Regions from separate parts of the Homo sapiens genome. Here region 1 is linked to region 2. The links are contacts of gene promoters, found by promoter capture Hi-C in human tissues and cell types (Jung and others, 2019). All regions are on one chromosome and are shown on one strand. The core of a region is centred on a gene start or on the middle of the fragment in contact, and the rest is flanking DNA. Distances in the headings are between cores, read along the strand shown.

Region 1 (3,673 bases), core at 1,127-3,626, 34 kb after region 2:
CATTTCATCTTTTATTCCATAGCAATAGTTTCAAGGGGTCTCCCTACATAAGGTGAGGCTTTTCAATTACTCTTTCTCTTCTACAGGAGTAAAAACATCAACTTAGTAAAATTGTCCTTTATTGTATCCATGAATACTTAAACTATTGCCCTGCAAATAAACATTGGAATTAACTATAAAACCAGGTTTTGTTTTGCAATGCAGGTAAATTTCCATGGCCTGTTTCTTAAGATTAAGTAAATATTTACACAGGCATATTCTGTAAGTCCTGACACTGTTTGTCTCAGAGAAAAAGGCCTGTGGTAGAATAAAACATAAAATGCTTTTTTTTTGGGGGTGTTGTTTTACTTGTACCCAAATTTGCTGAATTGTAAACATGGGCTCTTTTCCTATTTGAAATGGAGTTTGCCTGAAGGATGGTGGCAGCCCTAGTATTTCCAGACTTTTCTAAAATGGTGTTAATTTAGTTCAAAAAACACTTATCAATCTCTGTAGATGTGCCCCACCCTTTTTTGGTTTGAGGAAACAAATCCACATAGGTAAGGTTTATGCCTTGCTGGGTGCTCTAATCCTCACCCTCTTTCTATAGCTGGCAGAGTCAAGTTTCAAATTTACAGTTAATCTCCAAAGACATCACTCTTTACTTTTTAAAACCTTGTTTTTAATGGAGACATTAAGGTATACTTTGTATAGGTGGAATGCAGGATTGTAAGTCTACAGTTTGTTAAATTCTGATAAATGTATACCCTTACATAACTTACACCATCATCAAGATACAGAATATTTCCATGACCTCAGAAAGTTCTGTGTTTCTTTCCAGTCAATCTTGCCTCACCTATTTGAATTTTCATCACTATAGGTTAATTGTGCCTGCTCTAGAATGTTATGTAAATGGAATCATATAAGATGAACCTTTGTGCCAGGCTTCTTTCACTCAGCATCATGTTTTTGAAAATCATCCATGCTGTCGCATGTATTGGTAGTTCATTATTGCAAAATTGTATTCAATTGTATGAATGAAGCAATTGTTCATCCTTTCTCCTGATGTTGGACACATGGGTGTTTCGAGTTTGGGGCCATAATAAATTAAGCTGCAATTAACATTCTTGTACAAAGCTTTTTGTGGCACATGTTTTCATTTCATTATCTTGGATAAATTCCTAGAATTGAAATTGCTGGATTATAGAATGGCTATATGGCTGGGGGCCATGGCTCACTCCTGTAATCCCAACACTTTGGGAGGCGAAGGCAGGCAGATCACTTTTAGTCAGGAGTTTGAGACCAGCCTGGTCAATGTGGCGAAACCCTGCCTCTACTAAAAAATACAAAAATTAGCCAGGTGTGGTGGTGCATGCCTATAGTCCCAGCTACTCAGGTGAGGTAGGAGAAACCTGGGAGGCAGATGTTGCAGTGAATTGAGATCACGTCACTGCACTACATCCTGGGTGGAAAAAAAAAAAAAGAGAAAAAGAATGGCTATATGTATAACTTTTAAGGAAACTTCCTGTTTTCCAAAGAGACTGTATAACATTATACATTCCCACTAGCACTGCATGACAGTCTGGTTGCTCCATATCCTCACCAACACTTAATGTTGTTGGTCTTTTTCATTTCAGCTATTCTGGGGGGTGGGTGGGTCAGGAAGCGGTATCACAATGTGTTTTTAATTTCCATTTCCCTGATTATTAATGGTGTTGGCCAGATTTTCATTTGCTTATGGGTCACTGTATATCTTCCTTTATGAACTATCTTTTGCTTAATTTTTAAGGGCTATTTGTCTTTTCTTTATTGAATATAAGTCTTTTGTCTGTTATATGCACTGTGAATATTTTCTCCAAGGCTGACTTGCCTATTTATTTTTTCCTGGTGTCTTTAGTAAAAAAAGGTTTACATTTTGATGACATTTGATTCATTAGTTTTTTCCTTTTACAGTTAGTGCTTTCTGTGTATCATCTAAAACATGTTTGCCTACCTCAAAATCACAGATATGATATTTTCTTATAGTTTTAGCCTTTATACTCAATTTTTAGCTGTATATTCTTAGCTCTTAGGCTTATAGCTATTATCCATCTCAAAATAGTTTTGGAGTATTGTGTAAAGTAGGGGTTGAGGTTCATATGCTTGCAAACACGTGTCCACTTGTTCCAGCACCATTCATTAAAAAGACGTTCCTTTCCCTACTGAATTGTTAAACATGGTTGTCTCCACAAAGCTGAGTAGGCATAGTCTTTGCCTTCAAGGGCTTATAGTCCTCAGAATAACTTTTGTACAAAAATTTATTGCTCACTTTTCACACAAAAATAGCGCATTTAGTCCAACTATTCTGATGCATATAAATACTATTCTTTTAGAAAGGATAAAGTTCACTTGTCCCATCCAAGAATAGTTATATAAAGTAAACTAATTAATGCAAATTAGTGTAATTGTAGTTGATGTATTGCCTTGAAGGAATGCAGTGCAAGTAACAGTTTAACTTGAGAGAGTTCTCTTTCCTTTGTCCTCAGAAGAAAAAAACACTTAAATATATTCAGTTCTTGGATCACTATTTTTATTCAGGTTTTAAAAATTGTACCTTTGACCTTAGAAGTTTCAAGCTGGAGTAAATAGACATTTTATTTTTGAAGGATTTAAAAATATTTACATAACTTTTATATATAACCAGTGAAATTAATTTTTTAAAGAATTTTCTTTCACCATTAATACATTTTTTAATAATTTCAAAGCATGAAATAAATTGTTAACATTGTATAGCTCTTAAATCTTTCCCTGTGTAAACATTTATACTCCAGATATTGCTGCTTTAACATTTTTAAATTTTATTTTATTTTGAAAGAGTATCTCACTTTGTCACCCAGGCTGGAGTGCAGTGGCACAAACCATGACTCCTGGGCTCAGTTGATCCCCTCAACTCAGCCTCCTGGTAGCTGGGACAACAGGCAAGTGCCGCCACCATACCTGGCTAATTTTTGTATTTTTGTATTTTTTGTAGAGACAGGATCTTGCCATGTTGCACAGGCTGGCCTTGAACTCCTGACCTCAAGCAATCTTCCCACCTCAGCCTCACAAAGTGTTGGGATTACAGGTGTGAGCCATTGTGCCTGGACATTTTTTTATTTGTAAATAATAGCGCTTATGACTGTCACTATGACTCTAAATGTTTTTAGATGGCAAAGAGATGAGTTATGATAGAAAGGGTATTAGATTAGGATGCTAAAAAAATCTGGGATGTAGGATTCTAAGCCATTTACAAAGTCAAGATAGTAATATCTTTGTGCTTTGGCTTCCTTTGGTGTAAAACTGGAAGAATAATACCAGATTCCAGAGGTGGTAGAAGGCATAACATGGCGGTTAAGAGCTTTAACCACTGTGGTGGGTGGTTAAAACCTTTAACCAGCATGGTGGTTTAAGATCAGGATACTGAAGTTCAAATCCTGGCTGTCCAATTGTGTGACCCTGGGCAGATTCCTTAAGCTTCCTGAACCTTGGTTTTCTCATCTTTAAAATGGGGATGATAATAGTACTACCTATCCCATGCTTTTGTGAGGATTGAGTCAGTCCATCCTTCAGACGCTTAGTGCCGTTGTTCTTTGATCTCCTGAATCTCTGCATGTCTTGTGAGCAGAGGCAGACATTGATTACCTTTTATTCTGCACTATCTTTTCAAGGATTACCT
Region 2 (3,728 bases), core at 901-3,400:
AATAAATCTAAAATGGCAATAATGGAAATAACATATAGATCAGTAGACAAACCAGTTGGAAATTTTACCGTTTAGCTTATGTATATCTTTTTTTCATTGTCCATCTTTAAGCTTTTATTTCCACATCTTTTCCTTTTTTTTCCTTATAGTTTCTGGGTTTATTTATTTGTTTATTTATTATTATTATTTTTTGAGACGGAGTTTTGTTCTTGTTGCCCAGGCTGGAGTGCAATGGTGCAATGTCGGCTCACTGCAACCTCTACCTCCCGGGTTCAAGCGATTCTCCTGCCTCAGCCTCCCAAGTAGCTGGGATTACAGGCATGCGCCACCATGCCCGGCTAATTTTGTATTTTTAGTAGAGATGGGGTTTCTCCATGTTGGTCAGGCTGGTCTCGAATTCCTGACCTCAGGTGATCCGCCTGCTTTGGCCTCCCAAAGTGCTGGGATTACAGGTGTGAGCCACTGCGCCTGGCCTAGTTTCTGGGTTTTTTTGAGGCATTTCATTTTGAATCAAATTCACATGTATTTCTAAGCCTTATCCCAATATAGCTTTTCTGTATCACCCATGAAGGAAGCATAAAAAAGAACTTCAAATGCACCTACCTCACTCATATCAAAACTTTCATCTGCAGCAGAAAGCTGACTATCTGAAATTATATATTTTTCAGTTCTTAGAAATAATTATTTCTGGAAAATTTTTCATGGATGCTACAACTAGGTATAACTTATTACAGAAAAGGAAGGTAGTATGACCCAAAGCAAATTCAAAAATTTTAAGTTTTGTTTTGCATATTGAATGAAAGAAAAGACAAAGACTTTTTAAAGGGAGTGATTTCCTCTTGGGTATTATGTTTTTTGCTCTAGGGTCATTTGAAAACAATACTGACGAGATTCGCTTTTCTAGTATAGGTATAACAATATTACATTTATAAAAATGTGAGTACTGGTAGCTATAAGATTTGGGACAGATAAATCAACCTGTTCATCTTGAGTTTATACACAGGCAAGAGAACTGAAGCAAAAGGATTATCTTAGGTTTCTGCTGTGCCATTCTAGGATTTTTATAAAATTAAACTAAGTGGGTAAATATAGCCCTCTAGTGGTTCTGTTTTATGCTTACACTGTTAACTTTGGTGCATCTAAGCATTTCTCTAATGTTTACTGATTTTAGGAAACTGAGGAGAATCAGATTTTAATAATGTTAATGGCATAAAGAATATGGGAAAAAAGGTAATAGGGATACCTTATTATTCTAACAAAACATGCTCAGGTTGGTTTTCAGGTTGTAATGTGATAATCCAGAATATTTTTATTCTGTACTTTACAATATCAGTGATTGAATTCAGATACTCTGGCAAAGTATACAATGATTACTATCATCAGATAATATTAATTACTCATGTGCATATCAAACTATAGGGGAAATTAACGGATGGTGGAGTTGATCATATTATATCCATGCTATGAAATACATAGCTACTAATAAATTAGACTTTATTAGATTCTGGGTTTATTAACTTGGATATTATAATACAGCCTTATGGGAAAACAAGTTGCATTATATATATACATTTGTACTTATTTTTTTCCCTCATTTTTATTTACAAGAAGAAAGTGGAGGAAACCTGAAACACTTGTATGAATATGTGTATAAGCAGAGAAAAGCCTAAGAAAGGATATGCACCAAACAATACTGGTACCTTTAGGAGAGTGAGATTTGGAAGTAGGAAGGAGACTACTTCTTTGTCACTAATATTTAAATTGTTAAGAAAAAAAAAACAACAAAAGGAGCCGAAATGGAAAGACTTGAATGGTCAACAGAAAACAGGGACCTTAATCCGAATAGTTTTAGAGGACTAAGGCTGGCTCCTATACTGATTTCCTGAGTTTGTTTATTGTTAAATGGGATGTGTGTGCTTGATAATCTCCTTAGATAGAAGACTGATGCCCAAATAGGTTAAAATGTGTGGTGCTTGGTATTTCTTTTTGTTTTGCTAATAAGCTTTTCCCTTATTCTGGGAATTAAAGTCCTTTCCTCTTTAGCCCAATTAAATTTGTTAAGGGAGGGCCTCTATGAAAAGGCCCTTCTTTGAGGTCTCTAAGTGGAAATGATTGGTCCTAAAAAATCTTTCCTCAGTAGCTCATAAAGCAGTTCATAATTATCGAAGGCTTATTATGAAGGGTGTTTCGGTATCTTCCCTCCAAAATGCTAAGAAATAATTTAGGCAACAGTTCAGACTCTAAAAATGAAGATGGCTCGGTCTTTTCACAGACTGAACACAATATTGTTGCAACTTACTTGATTATGGCAGGTATGGATATTTAAGTAAGTTATTTTTCTTTAGAATGGGTGAAGAAAGGCAGAAGTTTTCAGCATAAGGCATGCATTGTTTCAAGTTCCATATTATTGGCCAACCTTGACAAGTCATTTATCCTGACTTGGCTTGCTCGTTGGTAAATGAGGATGATGATACTCTATTTCTGGGCTGTAAAGATCAAATAAGATAATGTGGGTGAAAGAATAAGGGAAAGCATTGTTAGTGATGGCCATTGCCACAGGTTATTTTGAATTTTGGTAAATAAGAGCAGTGAAGTGGGGCTGAGAAAAGTTTTCTATGTGATAAATAGTTCTTTCATAAAAATCTATGTATTTGATTATTGGATTGTTAAAGTTTTTATTGGAGAAGAGTATGCACCATGGCAAAAACATATTTTTATGTCATTTACTATTCTTATACATAACCCTCATATTTTTGTTCTTGGTGGTAGAATTTAGCTAAGAACTTAAAGGTTCTGGAAAGAAAAAGTCCTAAGAAGACAGAGCAGGGTATATTGTCATTGAGGACAGAGTCTGAAAATTCAGCTTGTTCCAGAATGCTTATTGGAAAACTCTTGAGTTTTGGATTTCATCTTTTAGTATATTTGCAACTGTGAGCATGTATCTTCCCTTTTTGTTCTTCCATTTTCTCATCTGTAAAACAAGGATAAGAATAAGTTATCTGTCATGATTGTTATAAGGAGTAAAATTAAGTGACACATAAATGCCATATAGTAGGTGTTGGACAAATATTTGTTTCTTTTTCCCTTTCCTCCCTACACACTCATTGATGTAAAGGATTGTTTGCAGAAAAAAAGGGATGGGGGAATGACAGAAACTTTTTATCTTTTTAATGTATCATTGAATTGTGTAACTTTTATATTGAGCAATCACTTAATTTTCAACTTTATACTCTAACGAGTTGTAGAAGTAACTCTTATATTGAGTTCATTATTTTTTGGATTGACTTTTATAAAAATTTTCAAACATTCAAAAGTAGAGTGAAAAGTATAACACACCATCCTATACCCAGTTTATAATTGTTTACGTTTCTTCCTTATAATTCAGCGTATTACTTCTAGTACTGGAAATTGAGTTCCTCAGTTAAGTTTTGCGATTTTAGTGACGTTATCTCGTTCATTTGAATACCTCTATGATAAGTACTAGACAAGTTCTAGTTTTTTTGTAATTGCAAAAAAGACTGAGAAAATCTCCTAACAATTACATGGAAATACTTTGTATACAAGTGTTTGGTTTAGTTAGTTATTTGTAGATGACCAAAAAAAAAAAAAATCCAAAAAACAACCAAAACTATCCTTTTTTGACCTGGTTACAAAATTAGCATGCAGAAAATATTCTATTTAGTTCTTATCTCTGTAACAGTAATAATAATAGTAATCTTACTACTACT

Evidence for each region. Contacts are between HindIII fragments. The study calls those that stand out against the background at their distance.
Region 1: a fragment that was not itself captured here is called in contact with the fragment with the promoter of RRH in region 2 in 1 of the 25 tissues and cell types used here (bladder).

What each region holds. Positions count from the first base shown.
Region 1 is chr4:109,859,890-109,863,562 of GRCh38, forward strand. The region is part of intron 2 of LRIT3 (leucine rich repeat, Ig-like and transmembrane domains 3); the gene reads left to right. Among named protein-coding and RNA genes, the nearest start is that of LRIT3, 14 kb to the left of the region's middle. The HindIII fragment of the contact is 4,650 bases long and covers 52-3,673 here.
Region 2 is chr4:109,825,822-109,829,549 of GRCh38, forward strand. RRH (retinal pigment epithelium-derived rhodopsin homolog) reads left to right here and starts at 2,151. Exons shown (of 7, transcript NM_006583.5): 1 at 2,151-2,312. The coding sequence starts at 2,207. The HindIII fragment of the contact is 8,882 bases long and covers 1,057-3,728 here.